Regions from separate parts of the Homo sapiens genome. Here region 2 is linked to region 1. Evidence: promoter capture Hi-C in 16 types of primary human blood cells and fetal thymus (Javierre and others, 2016). All regions are on one chromosome and are shown on one strand. The core of a region is centred on a gene start or on the middle of the fragment in contact, and the rest is flanking DNA. Distances in the headings are between cores, read along the strand shown. Region 1 holds the start of RFESD (Rieske Fe-S domain containing). Region 2 overlaps CAST (calpastatin).

Region 1 (7,934 bases), core at 3,234-5,733:
AGACGTTCATAATTAAATAAAGCTCACACCTTGATCTCTTTCTGTGTCTCTCAACTGGTTCCAAACTCAGGCAGAAAATAAAAGAAAGGTGTTATTGGGCCCTCTCAAAGTCCAACACAAATAAAAGATGATGGTACCTTCAGGGTGGTGATAGCAGATAAGGTAAGAAGCGGTGTGATTTCAGATAAATTTTAGGAAGAATTGGCAGGACTCAGTGCTGGATTAGATATGGGGGGATATCAAGGGTCCCTAAGACCCCCTTCACATTTGGAGATTCACTAGATTCTGGGACTCATTACAGTTACGCTATTACAGAAACGTAGTAAGGATACACAGCTGGATTGTAAAGAAAAAGACTCAGGCAGAGCATGGAAGACTTCGTGTGCAGGATTCCTAAGTGTTCTCCCTTTCGCGAGGGGTCACACAGACTGCATTCTTCCTCCAGAAATGAAAATGTAGAAACATGCCTGCAATGTTTTTGCCAGGGAAAGACTGAGCCTCAGCAGCCAGAGTTTTTACTGGACATTGGTCACAGGCACCTCTGCCTAGCAGGTACCAAGTTCTAGAATCTCAGAAGGAAAAGCAAGTGCATTGTTTGTACAAATAGCTTACGCACAGGGAATCACTTTTATTATTTAGGGAAAGCTTTGTATGTGTAGGTGTAGGTGTCGGATAAACTCACCTGATAGTAATAATTTATGCATACCCTCAGAATGACCCCATATGGCAGATGCACCTGAATGTATGTTCTGAGCTAGGGAATCTGGGAGTAGCTAACCTGAAGAGTCATTCTTTATCTATGAGAAACATCTAATATAGGGGACTGAGGCCCTGAATTTTGGGATACATGAAGGTTGCCAGGTGGAGATTGTTAGGGGGAGGGTATAAAGTGAAAATACCATATAAACTGCATGATGGTTGCAGGCGGTTGCAGTTTTCCTGCCCATCCCACCACCACTGGACTCTGTAAGCACCTAATAAAACACCATGTTTTGTTTGCTGGCTCTAGGTCTCTTCTTCGGCCTCTTGAACCTGGTTCCTTTCCTACTGAGGTTAATAGGGCTTTGGCACGACAGTAAGGGACTGTTTACCTGCCAAGTTCTCACATGTCAGCGAAGGGCCAACCTTACAAGCAGACCTTTTTAAGGATAGCAGTCTCAGGTCAGCTATGCGAACTCCTTTCTCTACAGACGGGCAGGAAGGGGTGCGACAAGGAAAAGGGAAGAGTCAAGGAAGACATGCAGATTTCTCCCTTAAGCCTGAAGATGGACAGTGTTGTCACTTATAGAGATGGAGAAGACAAAGAAATGCAGATTTATGGGAGAGAACTAGTATTTCGATTTTGAACACAATGAAATTAGAGATAGCTATGAATTATCAGGTTAAACTATTGTATGTTATAATAAAAAACAACCTTAAAATTCCAGGGGCCTTAACATAATAAAAATTTATTTCTCACTTAAGTTATGTGACTTTCACGGCCTAGTGGAAGTTAGGAAATTGGTGGGGAGATGTAGTCTCTGTTCTGCATAGTCACTCAGGGACCCAGGCTGGTGGAGGCTCCACCATCCAGAATGTTGTTAATTCTTATGACAGAGAAAGAGGCAACTGGAGAAGTCTCATCTCAGCTTTTCTATGCTTCAGTCTACAGCCCATTGTTCAAAACTGGCCATGTGGCCGCAAAAAACTGTAAGTGGAGCTGGAAAATGTGGGGTAGTTGATGGGATATCTGGTGAACACCACTGTTTCTGCCACAATAGCCCCATAGAAATGTCAAGTAGGCATCCCCAACAAACGTATGTCTGGAGACATTCATTTAGGAGTCATAAGCACATAGGTGGTATTTAGAGCCACACTCACTGTCATGTAATCTGAGTTCCAGGGCCTAGTAAGGGCAGTATTATCACCCTTTTCTGGTGTGAAGGAGTAGGAAATCCAGATTGGTGGACACCCTTCAAACTTCCCTGTAGTGAAACTAGCAGCACACAGGTGCCTTCACTAGCAGTCAAGACAGATTGTGGCTTAGGATTGAAGGCAAGTTTTTAACTTCTCTAAGAGGGGAGTCTTGGTGCCTGAAAAGTCTGCCTAGAAACAGCCTGATGCTCACGGCAGAGGGACTAGGCTCACAACTTTCAGTTGAAACCACACATGAAGATATTGAGAGCCAAAATCAGGGGGAAAGCTGGCCACAGGAACCACTAGGTGTCACTAATAGGCCAAAGTTAGAAGCGCGGAAAAGGAAAGGCTAAAAGAACAAATGAAGGAAGGAAAGAAAAGGTAGTACCTGCCCTAAGATGGCCACAGGTGAAACTTAGTGGTAGCATTGCTAACATTGTTCTATTAAAGAAAAAAAAAAGGCAAAATAACAGTAGAAATTATGAACTTTATTCTGAACAATAATGACTTCCAAATAGACTGGATGGGTTCTTGCTGTTACCTAATGTGCATGCCTGTGTGTGAATGGTTTTGTGCATTTGTGTGTGTGTGCACTTGGGAAGTGGAGAAGGGTAGTTTATTCTGACCTCCATTATAGCTTTCCAAACATCACATGACTAACCATATGAATACTTTTGGTAGAGATAAAAGAAAGTTTCTCTTCTTTCATCCTACTTGTGTGTATATGCATGTATAACTACTGAGGTCTTCAGTTTATTCAATATCAAATTTAAGGTCGATGGATCTAAGATGTGTCCTTTTTTAATGCCCAGAATATGACAAAGCAAAAAAGGATTTCTAAAATGGCAAACCTTATTTAATCCTTCGATGACAAGCTGGGGACTACTAACACCTTCCATGTGCCAATAAAATCATTTGGGATGACTAACAGATAATGGAAATTACAATAAATCAAAATATATTTTATATCTTTGATAACTGATACATCAAAACTAGATAGTTAATTTGTGTTTGGGTCAGTGAAAAAAATGGCCAAAAGGGAAATGACCCAATAAAATATTATTGATCACCATAAAACTGTATTGAAGAGAAAAAAAACAGAAGAAACTAGCACTGGAAACAAATTATTCTGAGCTATTCAACTTCTTACATGTTGAGGCTCATTTAAAAAATGGCATTTATATAGCACACTGAGGTAAATGGACAAAGTTCCTGGGTTTCGGCTGCCCCAGTTCATTGGGCCACCCTAGAGCCTGAGATCACTATGTCACCATACTAAATACAAGTTGTAGTGTTCAACCTTGGGTTCACACTGGAATCACTCAGGAAGTTAAAAACATACATTGAATCTGCCCACTCCCTTCCCACCCCAAATAATCTGTGTTTTATTTTGTTGGTCTGGCATACAGACTGGGCATTACGACTTTTCAAAACTCCCAAGCGACTCTAAGGCATAGCCAGGGTTAAGAATCACTGCACTGGAAAGTAGTCAAGGAAATTAAAAACTTAGGCTCATCTAGTTTCCCAGCTCGGAACACAAATATGAGGGTTTTGGTGGTTTTCTTTGTTGTTGTTGTTGTCAATTCAGGGAAGTACAATGAGAAAAAAGCAAAATTGCAAAGTTCATAATATGAAAGTGAAAACTCTCCATCTCCTCCCAAAGCAACCACTATTGTTTCTTTTGATTTTTCGAGAAAAAGTTTATGTACATACCTGCATGTTTGTATTTCAAAAAATAATTGTTTACATTAAAGAGAGGACACCATATATAGTATTCTACGCTTTGCCTTTAATATTCATTACATGATGGGCCTGTCCTTTGAGTATACAGTACACAGCTACGAAGTAATTCACATGTCTGTACTGTTGTGCTGTGTTTTATTGAACCATTCCTCCGTGTTATCACTTCAGCTATTTTCACTACTTCACAGCAATAAACATTTTTTTTTTTTTTGAGATGGAGTTTCGCTCGTGTTGTCCAGGCTGGAGTGCAACGGCGCGATCTCGGCTCACCGCAACCTCTGCCTCCTGGATTCAAAGCGATTCTCCTGCCTCAGCCTCCTGAGTACCTGCGATTACAGGCCTGGGCCACCACGCCCGGCTAATTTTGTATTTTTAGTAGAGATGGGGTTTCTCCATGTTGGTCAGGCTGGTCTCAAACTCCCGACCTCAGGTGATTCGCCCGCCTCGGCCTCCCAAAGTACTGGGATTACAGGCGTGAACCACCGCGCCCGGCCTTAACATCCTTATACATGGGTTACCAGCATCGCGACGACCTTCTGCAAATATTTTTATAGGGTAAATAACTGAATGAAGTCGCTGGGCGCATCTAAAATTTGAATAAATGTAATGAGATCAACAAACAACTAAAAAGTAAACTGATGCTATCCACATTTGTCAAGTACACGAGTATGCCTGCCAGTTTGAAGGTGCTGGCGCGGCGCTGTTGGCCAGAGATCTCTATCAACCAGGGTCATCTGCCGGCAATGCCATAGAGGCGGTCCCGGGGGCGGGCCTTCTTGGGTCACGTGGACGGCCTCGCCCCGCCCCCGTCGAGGCGCCGCGCACGTCTGGAGCTCTGGCTCGTGCAGTAGCGTCACGCGGAGGCGGAGCGAGGACTCGGGGACAGTAAGTTCTGTTCTCGCCGCGCAGGGGGCGGGCTGGCGGGACCAGCTGCTTCCGGCTGGGCTGCGGGCGTGGACTCCTCATTCCGGCTGTGGCCGCGCCGCTGCGGGGCCTGAGGCCCTCTTGGGTTTTGGTTCAGCGTTAGTTAACGGTTAACCCGCCAAGGCGGGCTTCCGCCCAGGCACAGGAGACTCACCGAGCTTGTTCACCTTGAAACTTGGGCCACACCTGAGACCTGCCACCTAAGGGGGGTACGCGGGTCGTTTTTAACAAGCTTTCATGGCATTTGTGCCATGAAAGCTCTAAAGTATAGAAGCTGCTCCAGGGCTTCCGCAGCCCCGGCCGTCCTGGAGATACTCGCCTCCTGGAGTCTGTGTCGAGAATTTGCAGCACCTGGACAGCCACGTGCAGTCTCAGAACTGCAGGCGGTCTTTACCGAAATGTTAAACACAACTTGAAGTTAGGCAGGATAACTGCCAGAGCTGGATGGACCTTAGAGGTGCCAGCTAACGCGCTGTGAGCGTTTTCTGCGGTTAGGCCTGCTCTAAACATTTGACATGTGTTAAAGCATTTATGTGCTTTACCCACACCCCTATGTGGCGGGCCCTTCTTAAAGTAAAAGAAACTGCAGCACAGCGAAGTTAAGCAACTTGCCCCAAATCACGCAGAACTGGGATGCAAACCCAGGTCTAGCTCACTCGTGATCACAATTCAACATCATACGATGGTGCTGATTTCCAGAGCAGCTCTGTGACTTTATATAAAATTATTGGGCAAGCGTTCAATTGTAAACATTCGTGAACATAGCTGTTGCACATTAGCGTTCCTTTTTTTTTTTAATTCAGGACCATCTTTGGTGACAAATATAAATATCAATACTATATATATCACCAATATACATATTTGCTTTGCTAAAAGGTTTCTGTGTCTTCAGGATAGTTTACTTGCAAGCCTCATGTTTTTATAAAAACGTGGGTGCTACCTGAATAAAACTAATGCCTACCCGTTGGCGGTTTTGTGAAGACTAATGAACTATTATATTCAAAGGGTCCAAGCAGTAGGCATTTACTAAAGGACAGCTAGTTTTATCTGTTATTATTCTGCCATTCAGAGAGATACCAAAACTACTCTCTAAGGCATTTCTCTTCCCTGCATGTAAAAGCAAGGGTGTCATACTTGAGATAAGCATTCTGATAATGTGTAGGCAAAGTTTCCACACTTGGTAAAAGCATCTTAGTCATGGTTCAAGACGAGTGACAAGTAAGTACGTTTCACTTCATGTTTCTTTTATCTCCCGTGTCTTGTGGAAATTTGAGTTACACTAAATATTTTTTTAAATTCCACTTGAATTTATTTCCTTTGTTGGAAAGGAATCTAATAGTGACCGAGTATCCATTTAGCTAATTTGTAATTTTATATGGAGTTAGCACCTTTAGAAACCAATTTTAGGGACAGGCCAAAAATTTTTCTCGAAGAGAACATGAAACACAACGACTAAGTTTTTCAGGGGGATGTTTTCAACTAGCCGTCAAACTGTATGAGTTGTTTAATTTTCTGTTTCATTCAGTTAAGATTCTATTATCTTAAAGTAGACTTAAAATCGAAACATATTGGGAGTTTATGAATAGTTCATCAAAATAACGATAATTAAGGTGAACACGTGGGCTTTCCCTATTGTGTGAATGGATCATGATATTCACAATAGTAAGAATAATATGGGTGTTAAATGTAAAAAGTCCTCAAATAGTATAAATAGTACCATTTAAGATACATAGAGGAAACTATTATTTGACATATAAAATTATACTTTTCTAAGCAAAATGCACAGCCATAATCATAGTTCTCTGAAACCTTTATCATTTAGCCCCAGTCTTCTCTGCTCCTTTTTTATCAGTCCCGTAAAAGTTCACCAGTTTGTCGGGTTGGAGGCAAACCTTGCAAAAACTGTAAGTTTGTAGTGACTCAAATTTGAGAAAGACCTGTATTTGGTTCTCATTTATTTGGGAGTTGGGAAAACATAATTAACTTTTGATATTATACTACATCTCTTGTATTTCGTTACTTTTTGATAGTAGTGCTTTTTTTTTTTTTTTTTTTTTTGGCCTGGAGGAAAACAACTATTCATTTATTTCCTCCTTTGGTGCCAAGTTTTGAAATTAGCTGTACAAAATTCTCAAATAGTTAATTCATGACCTATGCACAGGCACATTCTCTGAGGATAGAAAGGGCAATTTTGTTCCATTTTTCTTGGGTTTGGGGTCATTTGCTACATAAATATACATTAGGATACAACTTAAATCTTGAAAAGAATAATTTTAATTATAAGAAAAAAGTAAATACTTTTAGACATTTAAGAAATGTTTATTATCCCCTTGCTTTTCTTGATATATTTACCCTATAGTACATATATCCATGAATAATATACTGTTTGGTTTTGCCACTTTTGTGATAAAAACGGAAACATACTCTGAATTCCTTTTTAAATTTTTCACTTGCAATTATGTTTTTTGAAATTAAGCCAACTTGATGTAGAGATACATTTTTCACTGCTGTACAGCATTCCATTGAATGAACATACACATTTTCCATTCTACTGTTGATGGGTTTTGTGTTGTTTTTGTTTTTTGCTGTTATAACTATTCTTGTGTATGTTTCCTGGTGTACCTGTGTGCATTTCTGTGGCATATACCCAAAGTGGGATTATTATTATGTTTAACTTTACTAGGTAATGCCAAATTGTGGTAGCACTAATTTATGTTATCACTAGCAGTTCCATATTTTCACTAATACTTGGTATAATTTTTTGTCAGCCTGGTGGATAGAAAATAGTATCACATTAATGGCCTTGCTTTGCATTTCCTTTGCGTTTTCCTACTAATGAGATTGAGTGTCTTTACATATACTGGCCATTCAGATTTCTTTATTTGTGAAATGTTTGTTCATGTCTTGCCCATTTTTCTATGATTATTTGTTCTTTTTTTACTGGCCTATAGGAGTTCTTCACATATTCTGAATCTCAAGAGTTTGTCAGTTATATGTATTGCAAATTCCACATTTCTTTCTTTTCTTTTTCTTTAGCCTATTTCCCCTTATTTCAGTTCATTCCTTTGTCTGTTCCCATTTTTCTTATTACCCCTCTGTTCTGTCACAAAATGTGATGAAGGCTGCATGCCCAACTCTGAAGGCAAATACTACCACCTGATCAATTTGTGTTCTTTGAGTACCTGCCAAAATCAAATAAAACCAGATGACCATTCAGAGATAGTATTCTTGCCTCCTATCAGCCATAGCTAACCCAGAAAATCATGGCCATGGTCCTCTTTGCCTTTGCTTTAAAATAATAAACTTTTGCTTTTTTATTGTGAGATAATTTTTAAAAACAGCATATGTATTACTTTTCTATCCCCCCCTTT
Region 2 (7,137 bases), core at 165-2,664, 1.1 Mb after region 1:
CTATCAGAGCAGCTTGTGCCTCTCCCCTCCTGGAGTGGACAGTTTATTTTTATCTGGCAGGCTGGGGAACAGTGGTGAGTACCACACCCCTGAGAGTGGGAGTTCCTACAACGATCAGCCATTGTGCCTTCAGAGAAGAAGGCAGCAGGGGCCACTTCAAGCTTCCCTGCTTCCTAAGCTTAGGTTGTCAGAAGCCTTTTTAGAGATACATTTTTAGAAAAAGAAAAATAGTGTGGTAACAGTTTACTACTTGCTTCTTTTTTTTTTGTTTGTTTAGAGTATTTTATAGTAATATTACTATAGCTTTATGTCTAGCTTACCAAATAAGGGGTGAAGTGTGCCCCAGAGAACGCTGTTACTGTAGAAACGTGTCTTAGCCCCAATTTCCACTCATTGGTAAGTTCTTTTTCCTTTCTCTCTTTTGCAAGGTTTCAAATAAAATTGCCTTTCTAGAGCACTTCCCCAATCCATATTCAGTTTATAATCTAAAATGTATTTTACAAAGAAGTAAATGGATTGTTCGGGCTCCAGAGATGTCTTTTTTCATGCACAGGATTTTTTACTTTTAACAGGATACAATGAGTGATCAAGCACTCGAGGCTCTGTCGGCTTCACTGGGCACCCGGCAAGCAGAACCTGAGCTCGACCTCCGCTCAATTAAGGAAGTCGATGAGGTACTGACCTTAGAGTTGATTTACAAAGCTTGTTAGTCTGCACATTACAAAACCGAATGCACTCTGCATGTTTAGAATTCTCGCACAACTTTTATTGGAGAGTAAAAGTGAGCATTCTTCATTGTGCCTTATTTATTGCTGAGTGGTTAGCAACTAAGGGGGATAGTTACATGACTGACTTGTGAAACAGCTAGAATTTTAACATTTGAAATGAACACGAATCTCCCTTGCTAGAGCTTAAATGACCCTTGACTAAACAAGGTAACAAGGAGGCAATGCCTGGTGGGAAATAGTGAAGTTTGGCAATTGGAAATTTGTATTTTCAGAAGGGTTCTGGGTGCTTCTGTTTATAAGAGAAGGAGATGTCTATACACGGAGTGGGAAGATCCTTCATTTATCACTATGGGGAAAGATGTTGAAAATTTTGTCTCAAATTAAAATCAAGCAACAATTACCCTAACTAGAGCTCCTGCATATTTATAGAATAATGCTGATGAGTGTTTATCCCGCCACACTCCAAGATCTTAACAAGCCTTCTGAACCAAAACAAGCTTACATCTGGTGTACGAAAGTTTTAATATTAAATTATAATTTTTGTGGAATTTTTCAACTCAGTCCTCTGGGGTGAAAGAGGAAGGAAAGGAGAGAGTTGCCGGTTCCTGACAAGGCAGTGTTGTGGGGAGATGGAAAGGTAGCCTGGGATCCCCAGGAGCCCGCCCCACCTCCATCAGCTCAGGCTGGGGGTGCTGGCAGGCATTGCTGTCACAATGCCCCATCTCTGCTGTCACTTCCTGTTCTGAGTCATCAGGGAAGGGGAGTCTCCCTGACTTCCAGCAACAATCCTTGAGTCTGGGACTGCCCTGGCCTAAGATGGGCCAGTTTCTATCTTCGACTTTCTTGGAGGGCTCACCGGCCACAGTGTGGCACGATAAGCTTTGTGACGGTGAACGCAGAGGAGCAAGAGAAGCAGTTCGTATCTTCCAGGACCAAGTAATGTATTGGGAAGAAGGGAAACTTGATTACAACACAATGTGAGATATACATTACTTAGAGTAGCCGACAGAAGCAGTGTCATCTTGAGGAAAGCGGGGTGTTGGCAGAATCCTGGGGGGAGTCAGGAGGCCAAGCTGAGTTGTGGCTTTACCACCTGAGGGCGACAGGGCCACAAGTATATTGCACTTCTGCCCCAAGCTTCTTACAGACACTTAAGGAGAGACAATTAATGTGGGAAGGGAGGGTATAAACATGTCATAAACCTCAGGATCAAAGGAGTCTTAAAAGTGACTAAAAGCAGATAAGCAGATGTTAAGAAAAAAAGTGACATAAAATAAGTTATTTAAACATGTGGGTAACTAGTTTGGGAATGCATATGAATGTATTAAGTTCCCTCTAGAAAACTTCAGAGTCGCAGCAAACTAAAATTCCAGCAAAAAGAACTCCTCTTTTCCACTCTTATGACATAATAGTTGTATTAGTCTGTTCTCATGCTGCTAATAAAGACATACCAGAGACTGGGTAATGTATAAAGGAAAGAAGTTTAATTGACTCACAGTTCCTCATGGCTAGGGAGGCCTCATAATTACGGTGGAAAGTGAATGAGGAGCAAAGTCACGTCTTACATGGAGGAAAGTAAAAGAGCATGTGCAGGGGAACTCCCCTTTATAAAACCATCAGATCTAGTGAGAATTATTCACTATCATGAGAACAGTACAGGAGAGCTCCGCCCCCATGATTCAATTACCTCCCACTGGGTCCCTCCCACGACACGTGGGAATTATGGGAGCTACAATTCAAGATGAGATTTGGGTGGGGACACAGCCAAAGCATATCACTAGTTTTCCTTTTTAATCATATACAAAGTATGAATGTTTCTAAAGAGGATCTTTCAGTCCTCTAGATTATTAACCTGAATTCTTAGTACCCGACTTAGTGGGTCCTTTACATCCTAGATAGTCTGATGTGATGAGAAGGCTCAGGAAGGTCACTGTCAGCCTGTAGGAGTGTCCACTGCCACCCCAGCATACCCCAGAATAGAGAGCTATCTGTGGAAAACCACACAATACTCCAGAGAGGAAACCCATGCCTACTTGGTATTCCCATCATCTACCATAACATAAAATAAAAGTTTTTTATTCTCTAATGATAGCCCATTATAAGTCTCCCACATTTTTAGGTGTGGCTGCCTAGTCTAGTGCCATTTCAATTCAGTAGGCTCTTTTTTTTCGATGCCTACTGTATACAAACCAGAGCAGGCATTTCAAGACTATAAAGATCAAAGAGGAAAATAAAAGCTCTGGCCGCATGTGTAACTTTCACTGTCCACAGCCTGAGATTAGTGGGGAGGACCGTCTTAATACAGGTGACCCTGGATGTTCATGAAGGCCGCTGTGCCTTGACCTGGGGAGTGCTGCTCCATGACAGGATTTCTCCAGATGCCGAAATAGAGCGTGACTGGAAATGTTTAAAAGAAAACCATGACTTCATCCTTTAATGAGAGCTTCTCTATAAAACAGTGAAACTAATCCCAAAGCATAGAACAGTGCCTGGTCCATTAAAAGTGCTCAATAAGTAGTAATTAATCAACTAACCAATCAGTGGGTTTAGTTACATTTAATGTTTAAATGTTTTCATTTGTTTTGTTTTTTATATTTCCTGTAAAACATGACCAGCTGACTTTCTCTATTATTGTGCGTATCCTGTTTAAATGTTACTAATTACAATTGTTTAAGAACCACACTCTTAGGCTAAGATGCAGATGGGGGCCGTGGGTTGGGTTGGAATATGCCAAGTGAACCTCCTACCTTGGTTAGTAAATTAAATCCACACCTTTATATAGGTACAAATTCTTACATATTATGGAACTTCACACTACCCACCAGCAGGTTAAATTGCAAGTGTTGTGTCCTAGCAGTCAGTGATCTACTATAGAACTATGCTTTTATTTGTAATGCAGCTAGTTGTTCATGGTTCAGTAAGCTAGAGAAGTCCTGGCATTATTGAAGAGAGTCCTTTTAAAAGAGGTAAAACAAGTTATCCATGGATCAGCCAAGATTTGTGATGGGCCGCTTCTCCCATATCTGAACTGGGTTTAATGTGAAAATTAGTCGTGTTTCCTCTCCCTTCCTTAGACAGCTGCCTCGTTGAGTAAGACAGATGAAGGCCATTAAAATAATTGCAACTAACTGCTGCACTGTGCTTACTGTCTTCAAAGGATCTTTTATTTACTTTTCTCTGGTGATCTTCACAAGTCAGTGAGCTAGATAAGGGTTATTAGTAGCCACATTTTACAGCTGAAGAAACTGGACCAAATAAAGGCTAAGTGGCTTCCCAAGGTCACAGCAGCTGGGAGCAGAACAGGGCAGTTGCCCAGGATCCCTGGCTGGGCTACTTTTGCTCAGTCACCCACTGCTCCCTTTCTCACAGCTGCCCACCATCGTCTTGTGCTTTGTAGTTTACAAGGCTCTTCCAGATGCTTTTACCAGATTTGGTCTTCTCTATAACACTCGAGAAGTACACAGAGGAAGTGATATCATCTCATTATGTGCATTATCCAACTACTTTTTTTTTCCCCTCCATTTTCATCAGGCAAAAGCTAAAGAAGAAAAACTAGAGAAGTGTGGTGAGGATGATGAAACAATCCCATCTGAGTACAGATTAAAACCAGCCACGGTAAATTTTTAGCCACAGTGCATGACAACAGCATCTTGCCTTTGCATCTTGTTTTGTTGTATCTGTACCCTTGACATTGTCAAAGGACATGTCTGTCCCCCATTCAGATATTAACTCTGAAAACCCTGAACCTTTTTTTCTCTGCTCCCTACAGTTAGACCCCTTGAGGGATGGTTTGTCCCTGCCTGGCTTCCTAAGTAGTGACCATGTGTTCATTTAAATTCCCACAGATTTAAATGTTTCGTTTATTAACAGTTCTTACAATAGATCCCAAAACTCAGAAGGAACAATTTGGGGATAATTTCTTTTCTAACTGCTATATGGATAAAAGCACCATAGGTCTTCTGAGGGGTAGATATGAATGCACGAGGGTTTACCAGTATCCTAAGTGAAGGTGGTTTTGTTGCTGTTGTTTTTGATTATGGTGAGGATGGTAGACTAACTCCTGTCATTACATTTGTCATTTACTTTTGAAATCATGCATATAAACACATGTTGGAATATAGTTACAATTCTAAGTTATGAAACCTCATATCCAAAAAAACTAAACAGTGTTATAGGAATGATATCCACCTCTTCACTCTAGGTTGGAGAATTGGGGTTTTTTAAAAGCTTCGATTAACATAGCTACATCTTTATTGCCAAAGAACTTTTTTTTCCTATTACTCTACCCAACAGATTAAAAACATTTTTAATAACTTAAAGTAAATGTGCATTCTGCTTGGTAACATCTCGATTTTTATAGCTCAACTCCTTTTTTTATACTTTATAAAAAGTAAATCTGAAACACAAACTCATGTAAATCTAAGAAAAAAATTAGCTGACATTTCATATCCTGGAATTCCCAGAAACAAACTTGATGGGACATGAAAGCAAAATTTTCTATTTCATTTCCAATGAATTTTAATTTCATTTACAGGATAAAGATGGAAAACCACTATTGCCAGAGCCTGAAGAAAAACCCAAGGTTAGGAAATACATTTTTTTCTGATACTTAAAGAACAATAGACATGTAAAGTATGAATTAAGATAATTTTGACAGTCTGGAATTCACTGTGCAGACTTGCATGCTAACCTAGTACAGAGGAAAGGGGAACTTCTGATGGTAACACTTGGCTGATACCTGTAGCTCCTTTCCATATATTTTAAAGATGATCTTCCTCATAAATCATTACTAGACTATAAATTTCTAGGTAAAATTTATTGCACACTAGAAACTGATGTCAAGAGGGCCCTTAAGTCAGATTAAGCTAGCACTTAGAGTTCCATCCTGATCAAATTCTCTAATGATTCTATTTTGCCTTAAGTTGGTAGTAACCTGTCACATACAATCAGCAACATTTATTAATCGCTTGCTATGCACCTGGCACTGCACCAAATGCTTTTTGGATATTATCTTTGTGAGTCCTCAATGAATGAGGACGGTACTGTTATTATTCCCATTTTACAGTGAGGAAATTGAGACACAGAGGGCCTATGTAAATAGCCCAAGGTCAAGGGGCTATAAAATAGCAAGCCAAGCCCAGGACTTAGAACTCAGGCTGTCTGGTCTGAGTCCCAGCGTCTGAATCACATGCCCTTCTATCATGTTACTGTTGTTAGTGACAATCTCCACATGCCCTAAACTAATACCACTCTCCTGAAAGAACAAGGGGTAGCAGAACTTTGCTGCCAAAATCCTGCATAATCATAGAAACGGAGTATATCATCCGTGTTTTGACTTATTCAGAAGAGAAGTCATGAGGAAATAGGAAAATAATAATCACATTTAAAAAAATTATACAGATCTTCATTGTAGAGAACAGGCAATTTTATTTGAACAAAATTCTTCTGAAACTGAAACATCAAGGGAATGTTTGACCAAATAAACCATTAATACTTTGGTCCTGAGGTGTTTAGTATTTCTTAATTGTTTCATGAAAATTTTATCTTAACGTTGATAAATGAAAAAATATGCCCTTTATAAATTAGCTTTGGGTGTTAAGTATGGCCTCATATGTGTTAATCAGGAAAAAAATTGCTCCATGAAAACTTTTTTTTTACAAAATAAAAAAGAGTCCCCTTGTAATATACAGCACTTCTTATATTACAGCCTCGGAGTGAATCAGAACTCATTGATGAACTTTCAGAAGATTTTGACCGGTCTGAATGTAAAGAGAAACCATCTAAGCCAACTGAAAAGACAGAAGTATGTTTCTAAACATATAAATCTCTAGTTTTGAGGTTTGTGATCTTAAAAAAAAATTGTGAGACAGACTGTTTTAGCATCAAGCAGTCTGTTAGAAAGCCCAATATGCCATCGTTTTTTCCATGTCATTTTTGTCTTCCTTTTTGGATGTGCTTTCTGCCCCAACCTAACCCTGATATTCTTGCAATTGAAGTCCTGCAATGACTCCTTCGGAAAGCTCTGGAACCCATGCCTTCCTTCTTATCCCAGCTTCTGTAACTGACCTGATTGGAACTGTCACCACCCCTCCCCTCTGGGTTGCAGTGGCCTTTCTGCAGTCTCCTTCATGTCCGCCGGACTCATTCTTTCTCAAGCATGTCTGTAGTTATGTCATTCCTCTGCTTCTATCCCCAGGAGTTTCCCATCCCTACAAAAAAAAGTTCCTATTACCATATTCTTGACCCAGTTTTCTTTCCTACCAAACTGTGTCCCTGTGTCAGTAAACAGAACAATAAGTATGTGTGCATCCCTGGCTTTTCTCACTTGGTTCCTCTGTCTTGATTGACCTTTCTTTCTAATGCTAGATCAACTAAAGTCTTACTCATCTTTTCAAGGCTCTGCTGAAAT

What was found. The method cuts DNA at HindIII sites, captures the fragments that hold promoters and counts their contacts. A CHiCAGO score of 5 or more calls a contact.
Region 2: a contact is called between a fragment that was not itself captured here and the fragment with the promoter of RFESD in region 1, in 1 of 17 cell types (erythroblasts). The highest score is 6.2, in erythroblasts.

The regions. Positions count from the first base shown.
Region 1 is chr5:95,642,294-95,650,227 of GRCh38, forward strand. RFESD (Rieske Fe-S domain containing) reads left to right here and starts at 4,484. Exons shown (of 6, transcript NM_001131066.2): 1 at 4,484-4,524. The HindIII fragment of the contact is 4,150 bases long and covers 644-4,793 here.
Region 2 is chr5:96,742,083-96,749,219 of GRCh38, forward strand. It overlaps CAST (calpastatin), which reads left to right. Exons shown (of 32, transcript NM_001750.7): 16 at 573-674; 17 at 4,260-4,343; 18 at 5,263-5,310; 19 at 6,436-6,531. Among named protein-coding and RNA genes, the nearest start is that of ERAP1, 62 kb to the right of the region's middle. The HindIII fragment of the contact is 382 bases long and covers 1,224-1,605 here.